3 separate regions of the Homo sapiens genome follow, and all the other regions are linked to region 1. The links are contacts of gene promoters, found by promoter capture Hi-C in blood cells and fetal thymus (Javierre and others, 2016). All regions are on one chromosome and are shown on one strand. Each heading gives the region's core, a stretch centred on a gene start or on the middle of the fragment in contact. The rest is flanking DNA. Distances are from core to core; before and after follow the strand shown.

Region 1 (2,864 bases), core at 198-2,697:
TTCTTAGACCCATTTTACAAATGGGTAAAGTCCCTGCCCTAACCCTGATCCTGTCCTACTGGACACCCTGCCCCTGCGGGTCACATCCCAAAGACCCACACACACACCTCCCCTCCGAGAAGGGCTCTGAACCTTCTCCTGCCAGTGCCCAGGCCTCTCAGACTCTCCCGCATCACAGAAAACTCTGGCACCCAAAACTCACGACACAGAAACATGTGTAGGTTTTCTGGGAGCTCTCCTTCCTGAGCTCTGGGCCCTCCTTGGTCCCTGCCAGGATTCTGCCACATAAAAGGGCTCTGTTGTTTTTTGTGTGTGCGGTTTTTTTTTTTGTTTTGTTTTTTTTTTGAGACGGAGTCGTCTCGCTCTGTCGCCCAGGCTGGAGTGCAGTGGCACGATCTCGGCTCACTGCAAGCTCCGCTTCCCGGGTTCACGCCGTTTTCCTGGCGCAGCCTCCCGAGTAGCTGGGACTACAGGCGCCCGCAACAACGCCCGGCTAATTTTTTGTATTTTTAGTAGAGACCGGTTTCACCATGTTGGCCAGGATGGTCTCGATCTCCTGACTTCGTGATCCGCCCGCCTCGGCCTCTCAAAGTGCTGGGATTACAGGCGTGAGCCACCGCGCCCGGCCATAAAAGGACTCTTAACATCGCCTCTCCCCAACTCCCTTAACCTGGGGCTGGAGACCCTCCTCCGTTATCAGGCTCCGCCCCAGCTACGGCCCCACCCCTGGTGCTGGCACCACCTCAGTCTAATCCAGGTTCCACCCCCAATCCACCTAAGCCGTGTCCCTAGCCCTGGCCCCGCCCTGATGTTGCCGTGTAACTCAGTTCCCGCCGTTTTATAGGCTACCGCCCCAGCCAGGCCCCGCCCTCTGATGTGGCCCCGCCCCCCGACGCTGACTTTTTCTGTCTTCACTTTAGCGCTGGCTCCGCCCCTAGCCTTGGCCCGCCTCAGCGCGGACTCTCAGTCTCTGCGCCTGCCACGGCCTCGTCCCGCTCAGCCCTGGCCCTGCCCCTGGAGCCGACTCTCTCCGCCTCCGCCCCGGTCCCGCCCTGGCACTGACTGTCTCCGTCTTCGCCCCTGCCCTGGCCCCGCCCCCTGCCTGCTCTGGCCCCGCCCCGCCGCTCTCTCCGTCTCCGCCCCTGCCCTGGCCCCACCCTTGCCCCGCCCCGGCGCTGACTCTCTCCGTCTCCGCCTCCGCCCCCGGCTCCTCCCCGGCCCCGCCCCGGCACTGACATTCTATCTCTCTCCCGTCTCCGCCTCTGCCCCCCCCCCGGCCCCGCCCCTGCCCTGCGCCGGCGCTGGCTCCGTCTGCGCCTCAGCCTCGGTCCCGCCTCCAGCCCTGGCCCCGCCCCGCCGCTCTCCCCTTCTCCGCCCCTGCCCTGGCTCCGCCCCCGCCTGCCCGCGCACCGCAGAAGGCCTCCTGGAACTTCCTGGACAGCTTCTCGATGACGCTGTAGCTCTCCACGTAATCGACGTGTTCGTCCTGCGGCTCGCTGGCGATCTGCCGCAGCGTGGCCTTGTCCACGCTGCCCACTCCGATGGCGAACAGCTCGACGCCGCTGGCCCGGGCCCGCGCAGACACGTCCTGCACGCTGTCCTGGGGCCTCCCGTCTGTCACCACGATGACCACCTGCGACACGCGGGGCGGTGTGACACCGGGCTCCCGGAAGCCCACGGGACTGTCCAGGAGAGGAGGCTGAGGCCCGGAGAGGCGGGAGGACTGCCGGGTCGCACAGCCAGGCGGCACCCGGGGGAAGAGGACCCGGCTGGCCGAAGAGGAGACCCGTTTCCTCTGACTGAGAGACGTGGCTGGGGGGCTTTCCATCTGCTTCGCCTCCCTCGGGCAGGCAGCTCTGAGATGCCCGGAGGGATGTGATGCCCCATCGCCAAATTGGGGTCTCTAAGGTCAGGGCCATGCCTTCCCCTCAGACTGAGGCGGCTGAGGGCAGGGTCCTCAGGCTGATGGCTGTGGGAGTCGTGCCACGCCCCTCGTGCCCCCGGGAGGCCCGGCCGGGGCTGGGTGGGGGGATCCGGTGGTTCCACATGGTGCAGTTCTGCGCTTTGGCCACCAGATGGCAGCCGAAGCTAAGGGATGGGGCTGCCGTCTCCCGTCTTGCTGTCCTTGTCCCGGTAAGACCGGGGACCCTGGACCAGGGAACCGACGGAGGGCCACTCCCATGTGGATGCCCAAGGGACCAACCCAAGAAAGATGCCGCCCTTATCCTCCTCCACTCCCCGGTATGATACATGCCCCTGCCAGAGAGGGAAAGAATCTGCCTGCTCCCCTCCCACTAGGCTCCTCTGGTCTGTACCCTGGAAAGAAAGAGGTGGCGGACTCTGTCACTGAGATCCGGCTTCGTGACCCCCTGTCTGCACCCGCCCTGAGGCTAGGGCGCTCCCAGCTCTGCCCAGTCTGGGTTAGGCATCCAGTCCCGCTTTGCTGCTTCTCTGCTTCTGACTTGGGTCTGTTTCTGATTCCTGGGTCCCATCCTTAGCCCCAGGTCCTGACACCCTGTCCTGATGACAGGCAGTTGAGACAGGCCGTGTTTAGAAATGCAGCTCCACAAGCTACAGGTCACCTTCCTGAGCCTCAGTGTCTTCAACTGTAAAAAGGGTTGTGGTGAGGTTGAGTGAGATGACTCCTGGTTAGAAGCCAGAAGGGGCAACTATTATTTTTACCATCATTACCCTGGGCTACCTGGGGAGTGACTTTGTACAATCTCTTCCTCTCCAGGGGCCTGGGCTCCTGGCTCTGAAAATCTAGCTGTGACTATTCGCTGCCATCCCGAGGCCCACTGCCTCCTCGAGTCCCTACTCCCCTCCCTGCAACCCAGCTTTCAGATTGTCCACCTTGCTGGGTC
Region 2 (2,864 bases), core at 200-2,699, 2.8 Mb after region 1:
ATACCCATTTAAACTTGTAGCCACTGACTCTAGTCTCCCTTCTCCCTTGCTCTACCCCATCATACTAATTGGGGAACCTAGGGCAACTGCTGAGTAAGATCAGGCTGTAAGCTGCAGCCTAGCTAGGCAGCCACAGGGGCTACATAACTTGTCCAAAGTAACACAGCTGATTAGTGGCAGGAGTGGAACTAGAACCCCAGTCTGCTCACTCCTGCCTTAATGTTCTTTCCATTCTCCCGTACTGTCATCTTAAGAGTTTGGATGACTAGCACACATAGAGGAGGCTATAAGACATGGTTAAGAAAAATGATTGGAGAAAAGGGATCTCGGCTTAGACCCTAACTCTACCACTTGCTAGTTGTGTAACCTTAAGTGAATCTTCATAAACACTCAGTTTCCCTTTAGGTAATTGAGGATATAGTGCAGTCATACCTTATCAGATAATAATATTCTAAGGGTGAAAATCACTTTAGCCAAAAATCACAGTTAGTTTGAAAATCCTTTGGCAAGGAGCCGTTTCAGAAACTAACACGCTGCCTTTCAATAAATAAACTAATCAGCACAGCTGGGCTTTCTTGTTTGAACATTAGATGAGAATTCGCTTGTATTAGGGACTGTGCGGTATGAAAGACACTTTACTCACACTTAGTGGAAAGAGAGGCACGAGGGAATCAAGACCAACCTGGTGAATAGCGAAGTCCTAGGTGCCACCACCACATGCTTATTCTCGAACAGATAGTGAACGCAACTGGCTGCACTATTTAAATCATGCTCTTTCTCTCTTTCTTTTTTTTTTCTTCTTTTTCTGAGACAGAGTCGTGCTCTGTTGCCCAGGCTGGAGTGCAGTGGCACGATCTCAGCTCACTGCAACCTCCGCCTCCTGGGTTTAAGCAATTCTCCTGCCTCAGCCTCCCGAGTAGCTGGGATTACAGGTACGAGCCACCACGCTTGGCTATTTTTTTTTTTTTTTTGTATTTTTAGTAGAGACAGGGTTTCACCATGTTGGCCAGGCTGGTCTCGAACTCCTGACCTTGTGATCTCCCTGCCTCGGCCTCCCAAAGTGCTGGGATTACAGGCGTGAGCCACCGCGCCCGGCCCTCTTTCTCTCTTTCTGATCTTTGCAGTGGAAGTTACAGATCAGTGAAATGCAGCTCAACACCTAATGAGACTCCAGTTGCTGCCTGGAGGCTTCAGTGAGATTATGAATGTGGAACACAGCACTGTGCCTGGCACCTTGTGGGCACTCAGTAAAGGGGTACTCTTAGAAATTGCTGGTCCTAATGAGGCTCGATATTCCTGGTCATCTCGGAACTGAGGAATGCCCCGGTCCATTTTCCCTTGTTCACTTCTGTGTGAAGTCACCCGGCTGTTGGCCGACTCTGTTGGCCTCCCTCTCCCCACAATAGCCTGCTATCCATACTTCGGTCTAACTTCCTTAGAAAGTTACGGTTATGGTTCCTTAGAAAAAAAAGGTTATGGTGATATGTGGTCCCTGGGGCTTTCCGATTTCTATTTGAAACAAACCTTTGGGACTTTCAAGTCTTTCCAGGAGAAAATACCTATTATCTGAGACTCTGAGCTTTGGGCCTGGTGTGACTGCTAATTGCCTATTTTGTTGTAGTGTCCTGTTTGTGCAGGAACGCAAATGTCTTTGCTTGCTTATTGACTGTCTGTCTCACTAGACTGTAATTTTATTGAAGGTAGGGACTGTCAGTCCCAGCTACTGGTAGATCTGTAGCTTCCAAACAGGGTATAGCTGGTACTCTATAAATGATTGATGAATTGCTCCTTGTGTGAGAGGGTGACAGAAATGTGTTTGAACTCATGCATCAATAAGGTTGTGGTTCAAAAAGAAATTTCATGAAAGGCGAATTCTTTAGGTTCAAAAAGAAATTTCATGAAAGGCAAAATCTTTCTACATATGTGATCTCTCTGAGTGCTTATAGCAGTAATGTAGGTAGACAGAAATAGTTTAGTTTAATATAAATTATGGAATATCTGTATCCCATTAGGCTTTTGATACGCCAGGTTTATCATTTTAATACATGGTAATAAAACTTTTTAATGGCCCTGCTATTTATCAGATACTGGGTTGAGCACTGTGGATACAGAAATTAGTAACATACAATACTGATTCTAGTAATATAGTATAATGTGGGTGTCAGATATAGTAACAGGTAACTACAATAGTGTAGGATAATACCTATATTAGAGGTATGTACCAATTGCTTTGGTGATATAGGATCAGGGAGGCAATTCTTGGAGGGCAGGACATGAAAAGGGCATGTCAAGGAACTCCTATCAAAGGAGGTGACATTTGAGCTGGTGGTTGAAGGATGAGTAGGAAGCTGCCAGGTAGCCATGAGTTGTGCTTTAAGCCTCTTCCTAAGCATATGGAGGCCTTTAGGGCAAGACTTTAATTTTTATTACCCTTGTCTTGTTTCTCTTCAGTCCAGTCAGATTGCCCAAAATGAAAAATACCACCATCTCTCCATTCTCAATTCAGTTGTGTCATTCCCACTTGGAAGCAGCTAATGATCTCCTTTGAGTGGGCATTTTTTATGTCACCCAGACTTGTTGGGATGACACAGAGAGCTCATTTTTTCAAATAACCCAGCATGGGTGCCATCAGAGAGGCTGTAATCTCCTCTGGGACACACATAGATACGCACATCCTTCTCATACAATGTCTCATACAGTGTAGAAAGTGGTAAGTGTCACAGAGACATGGAAATAAAAGAGAAAGGAATTCCTTTTGGCATGAGCGCGAAGGTCATTTATTTTTTATCTAGTGTGCACAGAAAGGGATTAATTGCAATCCTTGCTTAATGACACACCATCATCATTAGTCAATCATTCGTGAC
Region 3 (2,864 bases), core at 255-2,754, 2.5 Mb after region 1:
GATCCGGTCTCCGCCCCCACAGAACCCCCAGCCTGCCAGAGCTCAGCTACCCGGTTTAATACAGACCCATCCTCGCGACCTCGCCCTCAGTCTGACAGTGGCCCTGCCTTTGCCCAACTCTGATTCCGGTTCGTCCACAACCCTGCCCCAGCCCAGTATCTGGTCCAGTTCTGATCTCACTTGTTTCCGCCATCCCATCCGCATCCCCGACTTCTCCCTAACCGCGGACCAGCCGGTACTCCAGGTCTGTCTCAGATCCCTCAGGGTCCGGACTGCCCAAGGCCCCGCCCCCACGGCCCCGCCATGCGGCGGCCCCGCCCCTCCCTGCCCCGCGTTACTCCTGATAGGGCCCTGACCTTGCTGGCGGCCCCGCCCCAGGACCATTCTGACTGGGCCTGGCCCGCGGTCCAGCCCTGACCCCACCCCCCGCCCGGCCCCACCTCCAGCCCGGCCCCGCCCCTTCCCCAGGCAGGCCGGGTAGCGCACCTGCAGCTCGTCGAAGGCGTCGTCGATGCCGGTGACCTGATGCTGCTCGTGCAGTGCAGGCTCGTCGCAGAAGAAGCAGAGAAGCGCGCGGTCCGTGAGGCAGAAGAGCTTGACCTTGTCGTGCGCCTGGCAGGGTCGCGCGGCGCGGCGCGCGTTGAGGATGGCGTCCAGCGGGAAGGAGCTGTAGCGCTCCACGATGTTGGCCAGCTTGAGGCTGGGCGCCAGCGCGGGCTCGGCGAACGTGCGCCGGCACTCGGGGCAGTCGCGGGCGCCCTGCGCCTCCTGCCGCACCCAGTGCTCCGTGATGCAGCGGCGGCAGAAGTAATGCTCGCAGCCCAGGCTCACCGGGTCCTGGTAGATGCTCAGGCAGATGGAGCACAGCAGCTCGTCCTTGAGGCTGCACGCCATGGCGCCAGGGGCAGCAGAGAGGGGGGCCCGAGGGGCAGGGGGGCGGCTGAGAGAGCGCGGCGCTGTCGGAGGCAGCACCGAGGGCTGGGCGCGGGGACGAGGCCCGCACAGGCAGGGGTAGGAGCTACCGGAGAAGGGAGGGGGTGCTGTCCGGAAGGAGGGTAACGCGAGGAAGGGGTGCGCGGCTGAGACTCCGTGGGACGCCAGCCCGGGAGGGCAGTCTAGAGGTAGTGGGCAGCTCAAGGCGATGGGCGCTGGGAGGAGGCTGTGAGCGGCTGAGGGACGGAGATCCTGACGGGGAGGTTCTAGGGGGCGGGGCAGTCCTAAGGGATAGGAGCTGGGAGAAGGGGATCCCGGAGCGGGGTGGAGCCCTTAAGGGGGTCGAAATCCCGGGGTGGGGGCGGTGCGGGGAGGGCGAGAAGCTGGGGATGGGGAATCCTGGGGGAGGGGGCAGCCAGGCCGAGCCGTACATTGGCTGTGACCGGCAGAGAAGAGGAGGGGTGCCGGCCCGCTCAGCTGCCGGATCCCGGCCCCAAACCCTGGCCCAGCGCGACCCCTTACCCCCGCGAGCTTAGCAGCCACCGCTTCGGTCCAGCGCAGCCTCTCAACCCGGAACCAGCCGAATCCGAGCTGCCGGTGGCCGCGGCTGCCTCCCCGCCCCCGTGGGCGGGACCCAAGCAACTCCGCCCCCGCAGCGGGCGGGGGAGGGGCGGGGCCACCAGCCGGTTGACCCCGCCCCACCCCCACCATCCTCCAGCTCCCAGGGAAGCGAAGCCCAGCTGTTCCTTCGGGGTGTGTACTTGGAACTGCATCCAGGTCTCGCTTAGGGTCCCCGCGGCGAGGCGGAGCAGCTAATTTGAGAGCACAACAAATAAACAAGGAGCATCTTTCTGGATCATCGATTTGAAGATGTAGAAAAAATCATATTTTGTATTAAAACGAACAAGAATATATTTGGAATACAACTTCTGCATAAAATATAAAGATAAAACTCTTGAAATGCCCTGCTTGCTTAGAGCGAGTTCAAGGCCCTCACACTCCTAAGCCCTGGGGTCCCATTTCCTCTTCACTTTCTTAAGGAGTGCTTGGGGAGAAGTTTGGAAAGCCCTGGCTAACATCTGGCCCCGGAGGCTGCCTCCATTGGCAAACAATTCTGGAGTGCTGTATTTGTGTGTGTGTGTGTGTGTGTGTGTGTGTGTGTGTAAGGCGGTGAGGGGTGGAGCAGGAGAGAGGGAGAAAAAGTAATAGGAGAACTTGTCTTGTGTGCCAGATGGAGAGGGGATAAGGGATTTCTAGGCAGAGGAGACAGCCTGTGCAAAAGCATAGAGGCGTGAAAGGGGAGGGCGCAGTGAAGGAAGTGCTAGTAATTCTGTACTGTTGGGGGTGGGGTGGAGAAGGAGCCTGGGTGGGCTGGAGGGCATTGTGGGTCATGGTAAAGAATTTCTTGAAGGCATGGGGCTTTCAGGCAAGGGAATGACCTGGTCCGATTGGGTTTCAGGAAGTCTTGGAGATAATCATTATACCATCTGCAAGGTGAAGAAGACAGGGAGCTTTTCCAATGTGTCTGCGGATGCACAGCACTCAGCACACAGTAAAGGTGTGTAGCTGAATAACCGCATCAACGCCCTGGGTTGCAGGAGGAAGGAAAGACTGGGCACCCCTAAGGTGCTGTTGTCATCGTGCCTGCAGGAGGTGAGACCCGAACTGGGGCCTCAGCAGTGGGTAAGGAGAGAAGACTAGGGTATTGCAAGTACAGACACGGTGACATTTGGTGATGGTTGGATACGGGGGTGAGGGAAATGAGCCATAGAGGGTGGCTACCAGTTTCTGCCTCCTCCAGAAATATCTTCATTGGTGTTAAACTTTATTGAGGTACAGTTTATGAAAAAGCTCTCAGTTTAGTTCTCTATGGTTAACACTTTCTCCATCACACCCTCATCTGGCCCAGAATCTCCATCATTGCGAGAAAA

The links. The method cuts DNA at HindIII sites, captures the fragments that hold promoters and counts their contacts. A CHiCAGO score of 5 or more calls a contact.
Region 2: a fragment that was not itself captured here is called in contact with the fragment with the promoter of MATN1-AS1 in region 1 in 1 of 17 cell types (total CD4 T cells); the score reaches 5.1 in total CD4 T cells.
Region 3: the fragment with the promoter of TRIM62 here is called in contact with the fragment with the promoter of MATN1-AS1 in region 1 in 1 of 17 cell types (fetal thymus); the score reaches 6.6 in fetal thymus.

Annotation. Positions count from the first base shown.
Region 1 is chr1:30,717,325-30,720,188 of GRCh38, forward strand. MATN1-AS1 (MATN1 antisense RNA 1) reads left to right here and starts at 1,448. Exons shown (of 4, transcript NR_034182.1): 1 at 1,448-2,241. It overlaps MATN1 (matrilin 1), which reads right to left. Exons shown (of 8, transcript NM_002379.3): 3 at 1,411-1,633. RefSeq lists silencers at 671-850, 891-1,410, 1,971-2,060 and enhancers at 1,471-1,640, 1,738-2,313. The HindIII fragment of the contact is 4,958 bases long and covers 1-2,864 here.
Region 2 is chr1:33,474,871-33,477,734 of GRCh38, forward strand. The region is part of intron 1 of ZSCAN20 (zinc finger and SCAN domain containing 20); the gene reads left to right. Among named protein-coding and RNA genes, the nearest start is that of ZSCAN20, 3.7 kb to the left of the region's middle. The HindIII fragment of the contact is 4,752 bases long and covers 1-2,864 here.
Region 3 is chr1:33,180,539-33,183,402 of GRCh38, forward strand. It overlaps TRIM62 (tripartite motif containing 62), which reads right to left and starts at 1,505. Exons shown (of 5, transcript NM_018207.3): 1 at 487-1,505. The coding sequence starts at 894. It also overlaps a transcript of ZNF362 not described here. RefSeq lists an enhancer at 28-197 and silencers at 280-479, 1,070-1,139, 1,370-1,679. The HindIII fragment of the contact is 3,969 bases long and covers 1-2,864 here.